Regions from separate parts of the Homo sapiens genome. Here region 1 is linked to region 2. Evidence: promoter capture Hi-C in 16 types of primary human blood cells and fetal thymus (Javierre and others, 2016). All regions are on one chromosome and are shown on one strand. The core of a region is centred on a gene start or on the middle of the fragment in contact, and the rest is flanking DNA. Distances in the headings are between cores, read along the strand shown. Region 1 overlaps LOC105377996 (a long non-coding RNA gene). Region 2 holds the start of LAMA2 (laminin subunit alpha 2).

Region 1 (4,126 bases), core at 1,594-4,093, 1.3 Mb after region 2:
CGTAAAGTTGAAAAATCTTAAATCAAGCCATCATAAGTTGAAGACGATCTGTCTAAGAAAGGGATCTAAGGGACTGAAAATTAAATAAGGCAGAGAGAAAGTAACTAAAAAAGAAGCAAGGAAGAAAGAAGTAAGGAAGGAAGCAAAAAGAATGATTTATTTTTTGTATCAATGAAATTATTATTAACTGTCAATTGCAGGAAAAATCTCTGGACACTCACTGATACCATATGTATCAGGGAGATAAGAACTAAATAAGAAAACACAGCTAGGCAAACTTATTAAATGTTACAGAATTCAGACTTGTCTTTCATCAAGTCATTAATTTAGGAATTTATTGATTGATTGATCAATCAATTAAAATACACATTCATTGAATGCTACAATGTGACTCTAATGACAATGGTTTTGTGGGGAAAACAAATGAATAATACATGATCCCTTGGTTTATAGTTTAATAAAGAAGGGAGATTAGACAGAAAGCTGTTTTTAATATTTTGAATATATTTTACACATAAGAAACTTTATCCCATTTAATCTGGAAAATATTCTTTATTCAATAAATACTAGTTTGTACTTCCTTTGTGAGACACACTGTCTTAGGCCCTAGTTATATTGTACCAGGAAAAAAAAAAAGTTAGAAATCTGTGACCTCATTGAGGTTATACTCCCATGAAAGACTTAGTAAATATGCGATGCTAAGGGAAAAACAATTTAAAGAAAAGCAACAAGAAATACTAGAAGATATTGAACACCTTCAATTTTAAAAGGTTTGTTAGTGAGGTCTTGCTGGGGATAGTTATTTCAGCAGAGATGTGAAGGAAGAGAGGGAAGGAGCCAGGAAGATAACTGGAGTAAGATTATTTGAGGCAAAGAGGAAGAGGAAGCACAGCAGTTGGAAATTAGGAGTTGATCTGGCTTCTTCAGCAAGATGATTGAACAAGGCAAAAATAAATAGGAGATGTAATGAGAGCAATAGGTTTGGGTAGGCCCTTGTAATCCATTGTAAGAACATTTTTTTCAACCTTGGAATAGAATGGAGAACATAGAGAAGGCTTTTGAGCAGAGGAGTGACCAAATCCAGCTTCTCTGTTGAGACTGAACTATAGAGGTAATAGCAGAACAATATTTTAACTACAGTTATACTGTATGTTTTATTTATATCTGTATTAATATTGTATATTATTATTTGTTATCGCTTATGTCCCATATTTGTTACTTATATTTGTTATATTTCTTTATATTTAATATGTTTATATGTTATACATGTATTGTTATATTCTATATATTATGTATATGTATTATAGATGTATTTGCATGTGTATTTATATATTATATAGCATAAATATGTATTGTAGATGTATATGTGGAAGATACTTTGAATCTATCCTGTTTCTCATCAAAATTTAAAACATTCATTTATTTATTTATATCTCTCTATTCATGTTTTTCATTTTATTCAGTGGATTTCCATGCTTTATTATTTATTTTGATACTCCATTGTTTCAGTCTTGGCCAGTGGAAGCTCCCTTTGACAATATATCCATCTATTTTTGAACACTTCATTGCTTTCAGGCACAAGAATGTATCTTAAGCTTATTTTATCCTTTACCTCTCTTATCCCTAGAATTATCCATTTCTCTAAGGCACTTTTGTTTCATTTATTGAAAAATAATATTTTGAAGAAGTCAAGGCCTGAGTGGTAGATTTGTTTATGACTTTTGGGATATTCCTGCTCATATTCATGCATCCCTCTCAGTAGATGCATCTACTCACCTCTATATCCATCTATCTATGTGTCTACCATTATCTATTTAGAACACATCATCTATCTAATTTATGTATATTGCAAATTATGAGTTCACACCAATATTGCTAATTCCAATCCAATAGCACAGCAATTACTTTAGTTATCACACTTTTCAATGTTTGAATCTTCCTTCTCTAACAGTGAAAGAATGTGGCTTCCATTTGCTTTGAATATGTACTTGTTTAATTTTTCTGTATATAATTCCATCCATCATCTGTGCCATAACCTCCTCATCTGTATGGATGCCTTCTCACCCATCTTTTTGGGCTCCAATATCTTGTAGTACATGGCCTCTATCGCTGAATTTCCTCTTCACTCTGCTTGCCCTCTGACTCCCCATGCTGGGCCTCCCCTCTCTGGCAATGCCTTCCGGTCCAGGTTTATACTCTGTTTTCCTACATGGCCTCCCCTTTTGTGAGCACAACTTCTTCACCCTGCTTAGGCTCTGGATCTCCATGTTTTGTCACCATGACTCCCTTCCCACAATTTTTTACTTTTGTCTACCAAATAAATTTTTCACTGAATTGTTCAGAAAAAGTAGTGAAGAAGTGGGAAGTGGGAAGTGAAGAAAAAGAATTATCATGGAATCACTTATAACATCCTTCTTCCTGTTATACCCTATACCTGATCCATAAAGAAACTATGTTGGTACTACATTCAAATATCCAGAATACAACCACTCATCACCATTTCTTCTATGGTCAAAGGTAACACTATGTTTGTCCTGGATTCCATAGATATTCCTTTAGAAAACTTGGAAATGCTGGACCACTCTCAGAAAGGGAGAAGTTGACAGGTTAAAGCTCATTTAGGAGAGATAACATTGTTGTGTATGAGGATTTAAGTGTGCACCTGTGATTTATTGATAGGTTTTTATTTGTGCTTTTTAATTATTTTGGAACCACAATACTCTATTACAATGATTTAGAGAAGGGTGAATGAACTCAAACTTTGTACTTTCATAAAAGATTTATAACCTCCTGGCAGCTGTGATTGTATCCCTTGAAACACTGAAAAGGAAACAAAGTCCCATATATTGCCCAATTGACCATACAGTTTGGACAATCTGTCTGCTATCTATTCCCATCAGCCCTCTGTCCTCTTACAGAATTTCTTCATAATGTACAAAAATTATTTCATACTTATGTATGTATATATATATGTAATTTCAAGTATCATTATTTCATATATATGTAATTTCTAGCAGGAAAGAAGATGCCTCTGGATCAGAGAACAGACCATTTATTACTGACAGATTGCCTTAGCATCCGTTTCCCATGCTTCAGTTTTCATGGGTTAATGCAATAAATGATGTTCACTCTCGCATGCAGTAGCATTGCCTCACAGCAGATGAACCCTAAAGTAAGACTTGGAACATATATGGAGCAGCTGGTGTATCATTCTATTCTGCATGGGTGCATGCGAGAGACAAAGGTGGGAGAGAGAGAGAAACAAAATGAGAGACATCTCATCCTTCTTACCTTTACTCTAGAGGGTGGGGTGAGTGATCGCTACTCTGTACTGTAAACAAGTGATTCCAGTAGGGATAAGAGTTGAACTACTCTCTGGAGCAGTGTGCTACCTAACATCCAAGTCATGTTTGTCTTTAAGTCATCCTTTAATAGATACACCAACTGCCTCTGGACTGTGAAGAAACAAAAATATTCATGGAGAATTATTTTCTAAGCACTTCTTCACTCAATAAAAATACCACACAAATTAACTTTTATTTTAGGTATGTAAAACTCAGAAATGTGAAACTTAAATAGGAAAAATAAAATTAATGAGCTCAAAGGACAATAAGAAGAGCTGGAAGTAGTTGTTTTCTGTGGAACAATTACTTTAGAGCCTCTAACTGTGTCTATTGCTTCAGTTGTCTTCCTTCAATACATTTCCAAGTGCCTCTTGCATACCAGTATTTGGGATAGAACAAGTTATATGGAAGGACCAGCTGTATGTATAAATAAAAAATGTGCTCCAACCTTTATGCCACATCCTTCATAAAATCTTCCCTTAATTCTGCTGCTATGCCAAACCTAGAGATATCACTGTCTTATCCAAACTTTGATAATTTGTAACCTATACTTTTCTTAAGGAAATATCCCTAAGAATATTAAGATATTTTCTAAAAATATCTGCCTAAAAATGAAAATTTTTATTTATTCATGATAATTACATAAGTTTTATGCTTAACAGATATTCAGTAAACAGTTTTTTTAAAAAATGAAAAGTTATACAATGTATCATTTCCAAGAGCAGTGAACAATAAAATGAAGCTTTCTGTTGAATTCAGAATGATAGGATAACGTGTTCTTA
Region 2 (3,794 bases), core at 603-3,102:
TGAAAAGAGAGTAAATAAGAAGGGAGAGGAAAAAAGAGAAATCCTGTGTGTGTTCAGGATAATTCTTAGCAACAATTTACTTGATCCTTACTCTGCATGCTTTGAGTTTCTGCCCCATTCCAAGTGGACATAAGGATTGGTGCCCCTGGCCCCTCATTTCTCCCAGCTGCCTAACATTATTAAAGTATTATGTCTTGTTTAAACACACCTTGTAATTGAGCAAAGTTTAATAGTTAAAAGTAGAATTTTTAAAAATAAGTGGCCAGAGATACTCTTAAAATCACTCTCGTAAATTATATTAATTAAGTCATATTGGCCCCATTTTACCTCTCAGAGAAGCAAAAGCAAAAATAGAAGGAAAAAAGTTATATAGTGAATGCAAGGTCATTTTTATTCCAAGAATTTTAATCAGGGAGTTATTATTATAGAAAGAGCTTGGGATATCTCTTTACTCCTTAAAAAATAGTACTGCTAAAAATGCTAGATTATAAGAACAAATATCAGAACTATTGACTTGGCTAGAAGTTAACTGGAAGAAGGATAAGTATACTTCAAAACTTAAGCAGATTCAGCCTCATTAAAACTTTTAAAAGCTTCTAACCTACAGATTTTGTACTCTTAGGTTAAACATTTTCATATTTAAAACCGAATAATAAATATTTCTTTTTTTTTTACTTTGATACAGGTTTTCCAACTTAAAGAATTGTTTGCTGAAATAATGTGTTACAAAGTATGTCTTACAATGCTGCACATGTGCTTCCTGTAAAATTCATGATAATAAAATAACTCTTCAAAGACTCCCCAAAGTTTCAGAAATGAGAGCTATATATACATAAACACTAAGAGGCTCTGAGGAGAATAAGTTATTTAAGTTACATTAAATACAGCCATCTTCCAAAGTCCTCCAAAGTGTATATCTAGTCACTGTGGCCTTAAAGTACACATGACATAGAAGTCTCCTCTGTATTTAAGCAAAAGGAGAAATTTCACGATTTCACTACAATAAAATAGGATATGAAGATAAGATGTGGGTTTGAAAAAGGTGAGGCTGGAGGCGCCATTGCCATGAAAGAAAAAAAACCACATAACTTCTTTAGAAATCCTGTTTTAAAAGTTGAAAACAAAGTTCTGTAAAACTTTATATATATATATATGTGTGTGTGTGTGTGTGTGTGTGTGTGTGTGTGTATATATATATATATAATTTTTTTTTGATGCATCAGCTACCCTCCATAAAGTCCCAGGATGAACCACACAGCTTGGGAAGCCTTTCTCTGCAGGATGGGCTCTGATTTGAAGAAATTCTTTTTTTTCCAATTGGAAAAAGTTTTCCTCTTGGAAAGATTTCAGAAATCAATTTACGGGATGTATCGTGATAGCAAGACCTCTTCGAAACTAAAGAACAATGAAAAGCACTCCCCGTTCCTTTTGCAGGACTTAGGTAATTCCCCCTACACTACGCTCTCATGGCATTGAACTTGAACTTGCTTCAAGTTCCTCTTGCCCCAGAGCGCACTCTCTGAAGGCGAAGCAAGACGGCAGTCCACAGACAGCAACTCTCGGAAGAGTGGAAGAAGTGAGGAATCTCGGTCCCGGCAAAGGATGCAACCCAAGCCCATGCCTCGACTGTACCTCTTTGCTGATGTGCCTGTGACTGCCGCTGCTGCTGCGGCCGCTGCGCCTGTACGCCCCCGAGGCCTCCGGAGAGCAGCAGAAGGAGGAGGACCCCGGCGGCTCCCGGCATCGTAGTGGCCGCGACCGGATCCACTTCTCGGGAGCCAGAGGAGTCGCTGCCGCCCTGTCCCCTGGCCTTGGCTTGTGAGCTGAGCGAGCAGCAGCTGCTGGGGAAGAGGAGGAGACAGCCCCCTCTGGCTTTGGCCGGGCCGCCGCCTGAGGGTGGGGGAGAAAGAGGACACTCCTCCACTCTCGCCTTCCATGGGCACGCGGCCCCAGGACGGCCCTCTATTAAAGGATCCTCCTTTCCTAGAGCGCTCCTTCCCTCTGAGACCGGATCATTCCTAGCTTGACCTGGTATCTGAACTTCTTTTAAATTAAAGAAAGTAATTGACATGAAAGCACTTTGAAATCTGTAAAATCCCTACACATGGAAAACATTATTTCTGGGAAATGCAAACAGCTAGGAACTTTTACCTCTTGAGAAAGGCCTGGCAAAACTGTGTGCAGCCACTGTGTACCTAGAAGATCCAAGACATCCCCAAGGCCAGAGTGTCTGAGAAGTTACTAGCCGAGGGAAGGTGCCCTCTGGGGACACTGCAGGCTGGGGAACTTACTGCTAGGTAGGCTGCTGGGAGGGCAGTAAAGGAAGTGCAAAATAAAACAGCCACCCTGGCGTCCCTGAAATGTTCCTGACCAAACTAATGGTTAGAATGAAGGCTTTCAGTTCAGTTAGGAGACATTTACTTAAAGGTAATAAAGGCCTTTGCAATAGTTTCCTTCCAGACTCACAATTTCATCTCTTCCAGTCCTGGTTTCTCCTCTTTCTCCTCTTTAACTCAACAGAACTACTGCCATTCCTAGTTTTTGTTGTTTTTTCATTTGTTTTTTATGGCCTAGGTCAGTGGTTCTCATAAGGTTTAAAACAACTCCATAATGGATTTTGTGAGTCGCAGGATGTCTTTTGGTTTACTCCGGGAACGGTGGGTACTGCAGGCATTAGTGTACTGTTGGGTCAGGGTGTGAGCTGTCCCTCAGTGGTCAGGACAGTCCTACAACATATTTTGTCCTTAGACTTCTGAATGGGCCACTGGTCATTTATGTAGTGAGTAAACAAACAAACAAAACAACAAAACCTTGCCTTATATTTGAAACCTAATTTAAGTTTGTTTCCACATCAAATTTTTGTGTGTGTTTTTTGTTTGTTTGTTTGTTTTTTTCTAGGATGCATCTACTATATACATTGAGAAGATAATTTACTTTGTGTTTTTGGATTTTACACCCATTTGTCAATGGGTGTAAAGATGTACTTTCAGAGAAGCACATCACTGATAACAACCTTGCCCATGGTACTTGAGTCACCAGCACAATATCAACATCCCATCGATTACACTGGGGTCATCTAAGAATAGGTGCAAACTTTTATTTTATTTTGCCTCCTAAGGAAGTTTTACCCAAGCATTTATATGTTGAAATACATATTGTCTTATATAGATAGTTTTCTTTTTTATAGTTAAGATGTATTGATTTATCTAAATATTATATTAAAGTTGAATTTTCTTTCAGTAAAATTAAGAGAGTATTGCTTTGAAGAGAATTGATTGAAAATCACTAGCCAAAGCCCATTCTTTAATATTATTCATGTCTTTTAGTTCTGTTAATATTATACCAGAAAGCTTTGTAATCCTTTTACCTTACTGTGGAAATTTGCAAAATGTAGTCTGCCCATGTCTGCACACTTATACATTATTTATTATTATAATAAACAATAATAAAACTTATATTTGAGAGTTTATTATAATTGAAGCCCCAGTGTTTTTAATTTGGTCTAATTTTGCCTAGAAGTGTTTTTCAGGTACATCTAATAGCAGAGAGGCACCCTAAATTAACCTTCTAAACCTATTGCTATTCTCAGAATGATTATTTTTACTCAACCACGTTGTGGCCTCAACTCAAATTAGTTAATCTAATAAATAATAAAAAATATTTATAAAAAGGAAAAGTTTTATTGAATATTTATAAAAAGGAAAATGATTATTTTTACTCAACCATGTTGTGGCCTCAACTCAAATTAGTTAATCTAATAAATAATAAAAAATATTTATAAAAAGGAAAATCAG

Evidence for each region. The method cuts DNA at HindIII sites, captures the fragments that hold promoters and counts their contacts. A CHiCAGO score of 5 or more calls a contact.
Region 1: a fragment that was not itself captured here is called in contact with the fragment with the promoter of LAMA2 in region 2 in 4 of 17 cell types (non-activated CD4 T cells, naive CD4 T cells, total CD4 T cells and 1 more); the score reaches 5.7 in non-activated CD4 T cells.

What each region holds. Positions count from the first base shown.
Region 1 is chr6:127,609,584-127,613,709 of GRCh38, reverse strand. The region is part of intron 1 of LOC105377996 (a long non-coding RNA gene); the gene reads right to left. Among named protein-coding and RNA genes, the nearest start is that of C6orf58, 34 kb to the right of the region's middle. The HindIII fragment of the contact is 2,491 bases long and covers 1,598-4,088 here.
Region 2 is chr6:128,881,196-128,884,989 of GRCh38, reverse strand. LAMA2 (laminin subunit alpha 2) reads right to left here and starts at 1,852. Exons shown (of 65, transcript NM_000426.4): 1 at 1,633-1,852. The coding sequence starts at 1,744. The HindIII fragment of the contact is 2,757 bases long and covers 596-3,352 here.